Linked DNA regions of Homo sapiens: all the other regions are linked to region 1. The links are contacts of gene promoters, found by promoter capture Hi-C in blood cells and fetal thymus (Javierre and others, 2016). All regions are on one chromosome and are shown on one strand. Each heading gives the region's core, a stretch centred on a gene start or on the middle of the fragment in contact. The rest is flanking DNA. Distances are from core to core; before and after follow the strand shown. Region 1 holds the start of ZNF625-ZNF20 (ZNF625-ZNF20 readthrough (NMD candidate)). Region 2 has its middle 5.5 kb from the start of ZNF442. Region 3 has its middle 2.7 kb from the start of ZNF563.

Evidence for each region. The method cuts DNA at HindIII sites, captures the fragments that hold promoters and counts their contacts. A CHiCAGO score of 5 or more calls a contact.
Region 2: a contact is called between a fragment that was not itself captured here and the fragment with the promoter of ZNF625-ZNF20 in region 1, in 1 of 17 cell types (endothelial precursors). The highest score is 5.1, in endothelial precursors.
Region 3: a contact is called between a fragment that was not itself captured here and the fragment with the promoter of ZNF625-ZNF20 in region 1, in 2 of 17 cell types (total CD8 T cells and non-activated CD4 T cells). The highest score is 5.6, in total CD8 T cells.

Annotation. Positions count from the first base shown.
Region 1 is chr19:12,154,139-12,158,699 of GRCh38, forward strand. ZNF625-ZNF20 (ZNF625-ZNF20 readthrough (NMD candidate)) reads right to left here and starts at 2,593. Exons shown (of 8, transcript NR_037802.1): 1 at 2,418-2,593. ZNF625 (zinc finger protein 625) reads right to left here and starts at 2,596. Exons shown (of 4, transcript NM_145233.4): 1 at 2,418-2,596. The coding sequence starts at 2,420. RefSeq lists a silencer at 2,113-2,282 and enhancers at 2,259-2,950, 2,513-2,622. The HindIII fragment of the contact is 6,672 bases long and covers 1-4,387 here.
Region 2 is chr19:12,368,894-12,373,454 of GRCh38, forward strand. It overlaps a transcript of ZNF442 not described here. Among named protein-coding and RNA genes, the nearest start is that of ZNF442, 5.5 kb to the left of the region's middle. The HindIII fragment of the contact is 1,161 bases long and covers 1,511-2,671 here.
Region 3 is chr19:12,334,056-12,338,616 of GRCh38, forward strand. It overlaps a transcript of ZNF563 not described here. Among named protein-coding and RNA genes, the nearest start is that of ZNF563, 2.7 kb to the left of the region's middle. RefSeq lists an enhancer at 1-499. The HindIII fragment of the contact is 248 bases long and covers 1,581-1,828 here.

The DNA of each region.
Region 1 (4,561 bases), core at 1,343-3,842:
TGCCTGAACAGAGCCAGGAAGGGCCTCTTTTCTCTTGATCTTCATTATAGATTAACTTTCCTCTTACCTTTCTCACACAAAGACTTCATGGCCATCACAGTGTCTTAAGCTGGAATGTCAAATTTGATAATGGCTCACTGCAGCATCAAACTCCTGGGGTCCAGTGATCCTCCTGCCTCAGTGTCCCTTGTATCAGGAACTACAGGTGGGTGCAACCACACCTGTCTAATTTTTCTATTTTTCTTTTCTAGACATGGGTCTTGTATTACCAAGGCTGGTCTCCAACTCCTGGTCTCAAGCAATCATCCTGCCTCAGCCTCACAAAGCTGGGATTACAGGTGTGGGACACTGCACTAGGTCAAGAGTTTAACTTTTAGCTCCGGAGTTCTAAGCCCATTTCCCTAGAGTCTGTATTTTCTTGAATGGCAATTCTCAGATTTTCACTTAAATAATCTCCTTATAATAGGAATCTGATCATTTCAATCATTTAAGGTAGAAAAATCCAAACAAGGCGACTACATCACTGTAACCAATAAAGTATTTTTTGATTTTTATTCTAATGCACCATATAAAAGCCTATCCTTCAACCTGTAAACTAAAAATAAAAACCTAAGCTCCCCATCCCACCCCAATCAAGTCAACTGAGTGGCTCTTTACCAAGGGGAGGCCCCCCAAAAACCTGAAAGTTCCCAGTTACATTAGTAAGGGAGATCAGACACTCCATACTCCCTTCTGGAGTTTAGACACAGCAACTGACCCACATTCATATTAAAATAGACATAAGACCTGCAAAGAGGCCGGGCACAGTGGCTCAGTCCTGTAATCCTAGCACTTTGGGAGGCGGAGGGAGGCGGAGGCAGGCGGATTATTTGAGGTCAGGAGTTTGAGACCAGCTTGGCCAACATGGTGAAACCCCATCTCTACTAAAAATACAGAAATTAGCCGGGTATGGTGGCGTGCACCTGTAATTCCAGCTACTTGGGAGGCTGAGGCAGGAGAATTGCTTGAACCTAGGAGGCGGAGGTTGCCGTAAGCCGAGATTGCGCCACTGCACTCCAGCCTGGGCGAGAGTGAGGCTCCATCTCAAAAAAAAAAAAAAACCTGCAAAGAAACCCTTTGTACCAATAAATACTAAATTGCAAACAAGACCTAAGGCCATGCAAGGCAAGGGTAAAGTCACGCCTTAGAATTCATAAAATCTAGTGAAACATATCTGTTTTTTGGTGGGGATGGAATCACGTGGCAGGTAACAGACTCCCTTCACTTAAACATTCCTTCCTACCCCTTTCAAATTTTAGACACAACTTCACACTCTCAGCCAACTGCCAACTACAGAATCCCTCAACCACCTGTGCCTTCTAAGCCCCGCTTCTACGTGTCCTGCCCTGTCAGCCTTCCATGCCTTGATTGATCTTTTCCCTGCAATTCCTGTCTCGCTGAAATGAATAAAACCAAACTGCCATCGAACCTCCTGGGGACCACTTACTCGAGGCTACATGCGGTTGTTTCCCTTGGTCACGTTCTCTCATATTCGGCGTAGAACATAGTTCAAGTTATTTTGCAGAGTTTTGCTCTTTCCGTTATCAAACTGCAAGCCATGACTGGGTGTTTCTCATTCAGGAAACATTTCTCATTCATTTTTTTCAAACTCCTATTCTGAGAAGCAAAACTCTTTAATTTTTAAGAGGACTCAGTTTAGTTTGTTGCTGTTGTTTTTGTTTTGTTTTGTTTGAGACAGGGTCTCGCTCAGTCGCCCAGGCTGGAGTGCAGTGGCGCGATCTCGGCTCACTGCAGTCCCAATCTCCTCCCTCAAGCGATCCTCCCACCTCAGCCCCCCAGTAGCTGGGATTACAGGTGGGCGGCACCACGCCCGGCTCATTTTTTAAAAATTTATTTTTAATAGAAACTAGGGTCTCGGTATGTTGCCTAGGCTGGTCTCGAATTTCTGGGCTGAAGCAATCCCCCCGCCTCAACCTGCCAGGCGTGACCCACTGCGCCTGGCCTTCAATTTAGTTTTTCAGGAAAAAAGGGGGGACTGGGGACCCCGCAGCCCACCGCTCCTCCCACACGAACCACACACCCGAGGCAGGATTGCCTCCATGACCCTCCCGTGGTCTCCGCACAATCTGGGGAGACGCGGGACTACGGGCGCGGAGCTCCCCAGAGAGGGCTCCGGGGCCGGGGCCAGGGCCGGGGTCGCAGTCGCAGCGCAGAGACGGGACAGGACGCCTGGGGTCCCGGCTGCCGGCCCAACCCCACCCTGCGGCCGAAGGGACCGAGGGCCGAGCTACGCCAGGGGGACTCCGCTCTGCAGACCCGAAGTCGCTGCAGGAAGGCCTGGGTCCTGCTAGAGCCGGTTCGAGCCGGTTCCTCCCGGCCCCTCCCCCGTCTCGGGACCCCCGGCCCCGCACACTCACCATTTCCCGGCTTCCAGGTGTCCTGGCCTCCTCTCCACGGATCCCTCTAACAGTCCAGTCACAGTGCGGGCGATGGAGCGACAGAAGCTATGGCGGAGGCACCTGGTCCCTCTCGGGGCCGGAAAACCGAGATCCCGACCTCCCTTTGGTGCAAGACGCCTGGGAGTCAGGAAAGCGGGAATGCGGCCTCCCCTTCCCCGGATGGACAGTTGGCAGGACCCCGCCCCAGCGCCCCTGATTGGATGAGGCTCCAGTCCCCGTCCCATCGGTCCTGAGTGACAGCGGAAGCCCTGGGTAACAAGGCCCGGCAGAACCGAAATGACCTGTTCCAACCACAGATTATCTAAGCGAGCTCCCTCCCTGCGTCTTGCTCTTTGGGTATTTGCATTTCAGCCAAATTTGCTCCGAATTGCTAGAGGGGGTACCGTTGTCTTCCTCACTCAATGGGCTGTCCCTGCTCCTTTGTCTTGCACAGGAAATTCCAGACTCAGAGTCCAGTGGAGGTGAAGGAAATTAAAATATTTTACGCCAAAATATATTTATTTGACAGATTTTGAAATGGCTGTGGCTCGGCCGCAAAAAAAAGTGGACTGGCAAAGCTGTCTTTGGAGGGGGGGAATTTGCATCTGCAGAGAATCTCCATTGATGAAACCATGCCCTCTCCCCCTTTATTTCTTTCCCTTTATCCAAGCTAGAAGAGATTGTGACCTGAACACAGGCAGGGTGCGGTGGTTCACGCCTGTAATCCTAGCACTTTGGGAGGCCAAGACTGGAGGATCCCTTAAAGTAAAGAGTTAAAGACCAACTTGGTCAACACAAGAATACCCCTGTTTTGTTGTTTTTTTTTTTTAATTTTTATTTATTAAACTTTAAGTTCTAGGGTACATGCGCACAATGTGCAGGTTTGTTACATATGTATACATGCGCCATGTTGGTGTGCTGTACCCATTAACTCGTCATTTACATTAGGTATATCTCCTAATGTTATCCCTCCCACATCCCCCCACCCTAGACCCCTGTTTTTATTATTTAAAAATCTTTACGGCCGGGAGCGGTGGCTCACGCCTATAATCCCAGCACTTTGGGAGGCCGACGCGGGCGGATCACGAGGTCAGGAAATCAAGACCATCCTGGCTAACACGGAGAAGCCCCGTCTCTACTAAAAATACAAAAAATTAGTCGGGTGCGGTGGCGGGCGCCTATAGTCCCAGCTACTCGGGAGGCTGAGGCAGGAGAATGGCGTGAACCCGGGAGGCGGAGCTTGCAGTGAGCCGAGATTGCGCCACTGCACTCCAGCCTGGGCGACAGGGCTAGACTGTCTCAAAAAAAAAAAAGAAAGAAAAAGAAAAAGAAAATCTGTGAAGGTCAGAATTAGAGCAAGACCCATTTGGGATGCCTCCTGGAGAAAGGGTTTATGAATTTTTATTTATTATTTTATTTTATTGTATTTATTATCATTTTTTTTGAGACGGAGTCTCGCTCTGTCGTCCGGGCTGGAGTGCAGTGGCGCAATCTCGGCTCACTGCAAGCTCCGCCTCCCGCCCGGGTTCATGCCATTCTCCTGCCTCAACCTCCCAAGTAGCTGGGACTACAGGCGCCTGCCACCACGCCCGGCTAATTTTTTGTATTTTTAGTAGAGACGGGGTTTCACCGTGTTAGCCAGGATTGTCTCGATCTCCTGACCTCGTGATCCGTCCGCCTCGGCTTCCCAAAGTGCTGGGATTACAGGCGTGAGCCACCGCGCCCTGCGGGTTTATGAATTTAACAGTAAATTTAGCTTAAACTGACTCAAGTCGAGAGCTTCCTGTTGGTGAAAATGAAGGTCTTAAAGGAGAGAATAATTTCTAAACTGAGGAGGGGACAGAAGGGCATTTCAAACTCCCAGATAAATCCTTAATTTTCTCTGCCTCATCATCTGGGACTGACCCGCCCTGGGGGGCTCCATTTCAGCAGTCACAGTTTGGCTTCCAAGCTTGGAAATATCATTTACCTTCTGACAGAGGGTTTTCCTTGTGAACTGTGCATGAAGCAGGCTGCTTATCTGAACTACTTCAAATGTTTGCTTTACTTTTCTTTTGATTCCTTTATAAAATATTGCTGCCGGCTGGGCGCGGTGGCTCACGCCTGTAATCCCAGCACTTTGG
Region 2 (4,561 bases), core at 841-3,340, 210 kb after region 1:
GGAGCTCAACTTGCCCTCCTGTGTCCTCTGCGCAGTGTGAAAATGCTCTCTCCTTCAAGACTTTAAATATTAATGAATTAAATGCTCCAATCAAAAGCCAAGGCATTAGAATTTGAAAATATAAAGATTTCCCATATTTGTATGAAATACAAGTGTCACTGGTAAACTGAGTTCTTTCTCTAGTTTGTATGAGTCACAAAGAAAGAATACCTAATGGAACAAAAAAAAAAGGCAAGCAGGATTTATTTTCTGGCCAGAGAAGGAGAAGGGGTCAGAGTCAGCTCTTGCTCCGAAGATACTTCCTCCTCCTAGAGCTGTGGGAAGCTGGGTAATTTTAAGCAGCTAGATATGGGAAGGGGAAGTTTGTAATATGGGTAGAAAGGAACTTCAGATGTTCACAAATCATAAACATGTCTCTTTATACCACACATGTTCAAAAGGCCAGCCGGGTGCAGTGGCTCACGCCTGTAATCCCAGCACTTTGGGAGGCCGAGGCGGGTGGATCACCTGAGGTCGGGAGTTTGAAACCAGCCTGACCGACATGGAGAAACCCCATCTCTACTAAAAATACGAAATTAGCCAGGCATGGTGGTGCACGCCTATAATCCCAGCTACTTGGGAGGCTGAGGCAAGAGAATCGCTTGAACCCAGGAGGCAGGGGTTGCAGTGAGCACTCCAGCCTGGGCAACAAGAGCGAAACTCCATCTCAAAACAAAACAATGGGCCGGGCGCAGTGGCTTACACCTGTAATCCTAGCACTTTGGGAGGCTGAGGCAGGCGGATCACGAGGTCAGGAGATCGAGACCATCCTGGGTAACATAGTGAAACCCCGTCTCTACTAAAACAATAAAATAAAATAAAAATTAGCTGGGCGTGGTGGTGCATGCCTGTAATCCCAGCTACTCAGGAGGCTGAGGCAGGAGAATCACTTGAACCCAGGAGGCAGAAGTTGCAGTGAGCTGAGATCGTGTCACTGCACTCCAGCCTGGCGACAAAGCTAGACTCCATCTAAAAAAAAAAAAACACGACGAGAAAGCTGCCGTGACTTTCTTCTGTGGGTGGGGATTTTCATCTTACAATAAGGTATCAGTGATCTAAACCAGCAGTTCCTAACCTTTTTGGCACAGGGACTAGTTTCTTAGAAGATAATTTTTCCATGTACTGGAGTGGGGATGGTTTTGGGGTGATTCAAGTACATTACATTGATTGTGCACTTAAATATTATTACATTGTAATATATAATGATGTAATTGTACAGCTCGCCATACTATAGAATCAGTGGGAGCCCTGAGCTTGTTTTCCTGCAACTAGATGGTCCCTTCTGGGGGTGGTGGGAGACAGTGACAGATCTTCCAGAATCTCATAAGGTGCATGCAACCTGGATCCCTTGTGTGCGCAGCTCACAATAGGGTTCGTGCTCCTATGAGAATCTAATGCTGCCTCTGATATGACAGAAGGCAGAGCTCAGGTAGTAATGTGAGTGATGGGAAGTGGCTGTAAATACAGGTAAAGCTTTGCTTACTCGCCCGCTGCTCACCTTCTGCTGTGTGGCCTAGCTCCTAACAGGCCACAGTCTGGTACCGATCCATGGCCCAGGGATTGGGGATCCCTGATCTAAAGGCAACAAGGGGTCACTGGTTCTGGTTTACTCTGGTTTTGAGCAGGCCTTATCTTATTCTGATAATTGGCAAAGGGTCCTGAAGCTCCCAGGCCATCTGGAGTCCTAGTAAGCTAGCATACCTAAAGATAAACAGACTAGGAAAAAAAAATGTTATCCACTTTTTCAGAAAATAATTAGCGGCTGGGCATGGTGGCTCACGCCTGTAATCCCAGCACCTTGGCAGGCCGAGGCAGGTGAATCACGAGGTCAGGAGTTCAAGATCAGCCTGGCCAACACGGTGAGACCCCGTCTCTACTAAAAATACAAAAATTATCTGGGTGTGGTGGTGGGCGCCTGTAATCCCAGCTACTCGGGAGGCTGAGGCAGGAGAGTCGCTTCAACCCGGAAGGCGGAGGTTGCAGTGAGCCAAGACCGCACCATTGCACTCCAGCCTGGGCAACAGAGTGAGACCCCATCTCAAAAAAAAAAAAAAAGAAAGAAAAGAAAGAAAAGAAAAAGAAAATAATTAGCCATTTCAGCTGTTTTGCTTTCTCAGCTATTTTTCCAGGACTGGCCCAGTAACAAAAGTACCAGATATAAAAGCATCATGAATTGGAAGCTGGAACCCATGGCTAAAAAGAAAGAAGCCAAACATCAAGTGTAATTCAATGAAACAAAATCCTGAATCAACTTGTGATAATTGTAGTGTTTCCTGACAAGACAAATTGGCAAGTTTGAAAAACAAGAAAAAAAAGATGTCTGATTATAACTAATGAATGATATTCATGCCTTTAAAAATTACACACACATGCACACACACACTCACAATCTATTATCACAAGACTGTTCTCTCTCTGAAGAATCAACCATCTTTCTGTAAGATGCTTCATCAACCTTTCACATTAACTGCCTTTGGAGTAATATTATATACTTACTTTTTCCTAGACAGTTGTGAAAACAGGGTGCAGTGGGTCAAAGGTGGTGTCAGGGGTTTATGTTCAGATTTTGCATATTTTTACAAATTGCAGCAATTAACTAGTTCATTACTGTGTTGATTTAAATTCTTACAAAAGCTTCCAGACAAAAATAAACACTCATATAACCATGAGGAAAAAATTCAGAATAGAATGGAGTCCAGAAATAAGGCCACACACCTATGACCACCTGATCTTGGACAAAGCTGACAAAATCAAGCAATGGGGAAAAGACTTCCTATTCAATAAATGGTTATGGTTTAACTGGCTAGCCATAGGCAGAAGACTGAAGCTGGACCCCTTCCTTACACCATATACAAAAATCAACTCAGGATGGATAAAGACTTAAATGTAAAACCTCAAACTATAAACACCCTGGAAGAAAACCTAGGCAATACCATCCTGTACACAGGAACAGGCAAACATTTCATGGCAAAGACAACAAAAGCAATTGCAACAAAAGAAAACATTGACAAGTGGGATCTAATTAAATTTAAGAGCTTCTGTACAGCAAAAGGAACTATCAACAGAGTAAACAGACAACCTACAAAATAGGAAAAACATCTTCAAACTATACATCTGACAAAGGTCTAATATCTACCACCTATAAGAAACAAAGAAATTTACAAGAGAAAAACAAACACCACCATTAAAAAATAGTCAAAGGACATGAATAGACATTTTTCCAAAGAAGACATACATGCAGAGGCCGGGGGTGGAGGCTCACACCTGTAATCCCAGCACTTTGGGAGGCCAAGGTGGGCGGATTACCTGAGGTCAGGAGTTTGAGACCAGCCTGGCCAACATGGTGAAACCCCATCTCTACTAAAAATACAAAAAAATTATCCAGACATGGTGGCGGGCGCCTGTAATCCCAGCTACTTGGGAGGCTGAGGCAGGAGAATCGCTTGAACCTAGGAGGTGGAGGTTGCAGTGAGCCCAGATAGCACCACTGCACTCCAGCCTAGGTGACAAGAGCAAGACTCCATCTCCAAAAAAAAAAAGAGAAAAAAGAAATACACTTCAATCAATGCAATCATCTAGAGGAATATAAAAGACAAATTTTTATTAACTGATTTCATCAAAAAACACTACCTATTCAACTCATGAATTTATGTGTCAAGAGAACTTATTTACAGAATTCTCTCACCTTGATGTGTTTTTTTCTGAAAGTAAGATGTAGGAATCCATAGTCCAGATCCACTTTAAGCAGGAGGCACTGATAAAGACAATAGAGTTACACCTTTTATGACAATTCTTTGATGTTCCAAATTTTCTGGCACATTTTGCACGAGTGAATTTGGATGTGAGTTTTCTTTTTTTGGAGATGGAGTCTCACTCTGTCGCCCAGGATAGAGTGCAGTGGCACGATCTCAACTCACTGCTACCTCTGCCTCTGGGGTTCAAGCAATTCTTCTGCCTCAGCCTCCTGAGTAGATGGGACTATAGGCACATGCCACCATGCCCAGCTAATTTTTGTATTTTTAGTAGAGACAGGGTTTCACCATGTTGGCCAGGATGGTCTTGATCTCCTGACATCGTGATCTGCCCGCCTTGGCCTCCCAAAGTGCTGGGATTACAGGTGTCAGCCACCGCACCCAGCCGGATCTGAGTTTTCTAAATTACATTTATAGCATATCTAGCCAGTGTGAGTTATGATAAGGAATCGTCAATCTACCAAAGTTGTATTAATATGTATATCCATGGAGGTGACACTTACGTCAATTGACACTTACATCATTTCATCAGGAAACATAGACAGATGCTGCACATGAAATTAGCCCTAGGCTGGACGCAGTGAGTGGCTCACGCCTGTAATCCCAGTACTTTGGGAGGCCACAGTGGGTGGATTGCTTGAGTTAAGGAGTTGGAGACCAGCCTGGGCAACATGGCAAAACCCCGCCTTTACCAAAAACAAAAAAAAATTAGCCAGGCATGGTGGCGCACACCTATAGTCCCAGCTACTTGGGAGGCTGAGGTGGGAGGA
Region 3 (4,561 bases), core at 455-2,954, 180 kb after region 1:
CACAGGCCACACTGCAGCAGGAGGGTGGCCTGATGTCCACCGGGCATCAGGATTTGAGGATGAGACTCTTGGCGGCAAGGTTAAGCCTTCCTCTCTCACCTTGCCTCTCAATCTGCTCATTTTCAGCCAAGGAAATAAAAACAAGTCAAGAACGGTATTAAAATATCAAATGTGTGGAAGAACTGAAATCACACGGCAGCAATAAATGAATGAATGAATCAAAACAAAAATACAACAGGAAAAAAAAAGCAAAAACTTGAACTAGTGCAGATAAGCAGCCTGCTGCCCTCATACTTCAGCAAACGTCCCATTCAGGAGGCTAAACATATGCCCAAACTTGGCAGCCACTCTTAACTGTTGAAATGGAACCCCAGAGTGAACCAAAACCTGGTGATGAGACTGGGACACTGAAGGATTTGACTCTGGGAGCTCAACATACTTCCCTGTGCCCTCTGCAGAGTGTGGAAATGCCCCCACCGTCAAGATGTGCATTTTCACCAACAGGAAAGTTTCATGTAAAGTTAGTTTAAGGGCCCGGGGCGGTGGCTCACGCCTGCAATCCCAGCACTTTGGGAGGCCGAGGCGGGTGAATCACCTGAGGTCACCAGTTGGAGACCAGCCTGGCCAACATGGTGAAACCACATCTCTACTAAAAATACAAAAATTAGCTGGGCATGGTGGCGGGCACCTGTAATCCCAGCTACTCGGGAGGCTGAGGCAGGAGAATCACTTGAACCTGGGAGGCGGAGGTTGCAGTGAGCCGAGATCGTGCCACGGCATTCCAGCCTGGGTGACAGAGTGAGACCTGGTCTCAAAAAAAAAAAAAAAAAAAAAAAAAAGGTTACTTTAAGGTACTGACCTACATAAACTGTCAAATTCATAAACCCTTTACCCAGATTTTCCTAACACATAAATGGTAAATTCTGATTCTATGTGCAGCTTCGTGCTACGTGGAGGCGTGCGCAGGCTGCTGAGGAAGCACCAAAGGGGGCTCCATTTCTCTCCCTTTGCAGCCTTCAGAATGGGCTCGGTGTAGAGTCACTGGTTCAAACTCTGCTGCCCACTCCAGGTGGCTGGGGCTCAGAAAACAATACCCCAAAAAGAAGACCTTGGAAGAAGCCTCAGAAGCAAAAGTTTTTTCTCCACAGAGGGCAGAGGAAAAACTTAGTCCCATTCTTGGGACTCTTAGTCCTACTCTTCTATCCAAGGCTAGCCTTAGAAACTAGAATCTCTCTTCTCCAAAGTGGGTCGTAGAATCCAGAACCCTTTTCCCCTAAATCCAGGCATAAAATCAAAACATACTACTCTAACTTTCCATTGTCCTTTCTGTGTAAAAACTGGCCATAAGCAAATTAACTGTCCAACTTTGTTTGACTGCAGGTCAGGGTGGCCCTGGGGCTTCCCTGGGCCACATTGGAAGAAGATGAATCGTCTTGGGCCACATATAAAATACACTAACACTAACAATAGCTAATGAGCTTAAAAATATATAGCAAAAACAAAAATTCCTAATGTTTTAAGAAAGATCATGAATTTGTGTTGGGCTGCATCCAAAGCCTTCCTGGGCCATGGGTTGGACAAGCTTGCTGTAGGTCATAAGACCCTCCATTTCAGAGTGGGTCCTGCCTCATACTGAGAAGGAAGGAATGCATGCTCAGAAAGGCCAAGAACAATCTAGACACACAGGCCTTGTTGGGTTTCCCCACTCAGTCTGTTAGCATTGGATCATACTCTTTCAATCTAATCACATTTCTACACGGCTGTCCATACATTAAGCCTAAGCATTAAAATGAACAATTTCCTTTGTATCTCTGGGTCTTCATTCTGAAGCTTCCTGGATATACGCGTTAAATAAAATTTGTATGCTTTTCCTCCAATTAATCTGCCTTCTCTCCAATTAATTCAGCAAAACATCAGAGGGCAAAAGGGAATGTTCCCCATGGCCTCTGTAAGAGTCTTCACTTGCTTCTCACCAGCACTGATGAGTTAATTGAAACAAAGACCCTCAATTCCACTGTTTGAATAAAAAATTGACAATCTTGGGTTTCTTCCTGTGTCTATATATAAAGTAGTGGAAAAAATATATATAAGATATTTAATAGGGATTTGGAAACTGGTAAATGGACTGGGCATGGTGCCTTGGGCCTGTAATCCCAGCACTTTAGGAGGCAGGGGCAGGAGGATTGCTTGAGCCCAGGAATTGGAGACCAGTCTGGGCAACACGGGGAGATCTTGGTTCCTCAAAAACAAAACAAGGCCAGGCGCGGTGGCTCACACCTGCAATTCCAACACTTTGGGAGGCTGAGGCGGGCAGATCACAACGTCAGGAGTTCAAGACCAGCCTGACCAACATGGTGAAACCCCGTCTCTACTAAAAATACTAAAAATTAGCTGGGCATGGTGGTGCGTGCCTGTAATCCCAGCTACTCAGGAGGCTGAGGCAGGAGAATCGCGTGAACCCAGGAGGTGGAGGTTGTGGTGAGCTAAGATCGCACCATTGTACTCCAGCTTGGGCGACAGAGCGAGACTCCGTCTCAAAAACAAACAAGCAAACAAAACCAACTGGTAAATAATTATTCTGTTGAGAAACAAACATGCTAACAAACTATTATTTTTACCTTAGCAAACTGTTGTGTAAAACAACTAATTAAATGTGAGCTCTCCTCTCTCCTTGGCTTCAGTCACTCCCTGACCTTCATAGCTCAGGGTTGACATCATGTGCTCTGTGCCTGGGGATGGACATGTCCCATTTATCCATCTGAAACCCCCTCTCAACCCCAGCCCACACCATTGACCCAAACAGTCATATCTGTATCTAAATCCTAAGTATTGTACAAATACATTTTCCTTTTAAGCAAACTGGCCCAGGTTGAATTCACCTGTGGTTCTCATGCCCACAGTTTCATTTATTCATTTGAAACAGTCTTCTCAGATAGTAATGTCTTGGGTGAGGACACATCCATTTTATTTGCTTCTGTTCTTCTTAACCTGTGTCACTACCTGCTCAGTGAGGGCACAGACAGAATATTCTAAGTGACTATCAGCTGCTGTAAATACTGGAGGTCTCAGCACAACCCTGAGAAATCCGCACCAGAGAAAGGATGTGTGAATAATATTAATGTCACCCCTTACCACAACAGTTAGCTTATTTCTCTCTTTTTTTTTGAGACGAGCTCTCGCTCCATCACCTACACTGGAATGCAGTGGCACCATCATGGCTCACTGCAGCCTCAACCTCCTGGGCTCAAGCGATCCTCCTACCTCAGCCTCCCGAGAGGCTGGGACTGCAGGCATGTCCCACCATGCCTGGCTAATTTTTGTATTTTTTTGTAAAGATAGGGTTTCACCACGTTGGCCAGGCTGGTCTAAACTCTTAGACTCAGATGATCCACCCACCTTGGCCTCCCAAACTGCTGGGATTACAGGTGTGAGCCACGCTGTCTGGCCATTTTATTTTCCTTTCTGGAAAAAGGCTTTTAAAAATGGTTTTCCGGTTTTCTGGGGTACTTTCATACACAGCAATACAGATGATAAAAGTAAACATAACACCATTCAGTTTGGTTTCATTTATATGATTTAACTTTTCAACAGTTAAGAAACCAAAACATTCTGTCAACCTTAATTGGATTTCCCTGAATCTAAAAAGTGCCAGGAAAAAAATTCTACAAATAAAAACATGTAAGAGTCACTGAGGTGGTATGAAGAACCCTGAGAAGGTGACATTTAATGTGAGACATGAAATAATATATTAGTGTAAAAACTCAGGGCAAAGCCAGGTGCAGTGGTTCATACCTGTTAACTCCGCCCTTTGAGAGGCCAAGGCTAGAAGTTCAAGACCAGCCTGGGGAACAGAGTAAAACCACCATGTCTACCAATAAATAAATAAATAAATAAAAATTAGCCGAGCATGGTGGCATAGAACTGTAGTCCTAGCTATTCAGGAGACTGAGGCAGGAGGATCACTTGAGTCTAGGAGGTCAAGACTGGAGTGAGCTATGATCACACTGCTGCACTCCAGCTTTGGCAACAGAGTGAGACACTGTCTAAAAAAGAAAGAAAGGAAGAAAACAAACAAACAAAAAACCCTCAGGGCAGAGGATTCAGGGTAGATGGCAGGGTACCAAGCATAAAGAAGCTGTCTCCCCACCTAGACAACAGTTTTACTGGCAGAATCTGTCTGATGGAGCTATTTTATTTATTCTTATTTTTTGAGACAGAGTCTTGCTCTGACGCCCAGGCTGGAGTGCAGTGGCACAACCTCAGCTCACTGCAACCTCCACCTCCTGGGCTCAAGTGATTCTTGTGCCTCAGCCTCCTGAGTAGCTGGGATTACAGGTGTGTACCACCACACCCAGTTAATTTTTTGCATTTTTAGTAGAGATGGGGTTTCGCCATGTTGGCCAGGCTGGTCTTGGACTCCTGAACTCAAGAGATCCACCTGCCTCGGAAAGAGCTGGGATTGCAGGTATGAGGCACCACACCCGGCTTGATGGAGCTATTTTAAAACACTACAGTTGGCCAAGCGCAGTGGCTCATGCCTGTAATCCCAGCACTTTGGGAG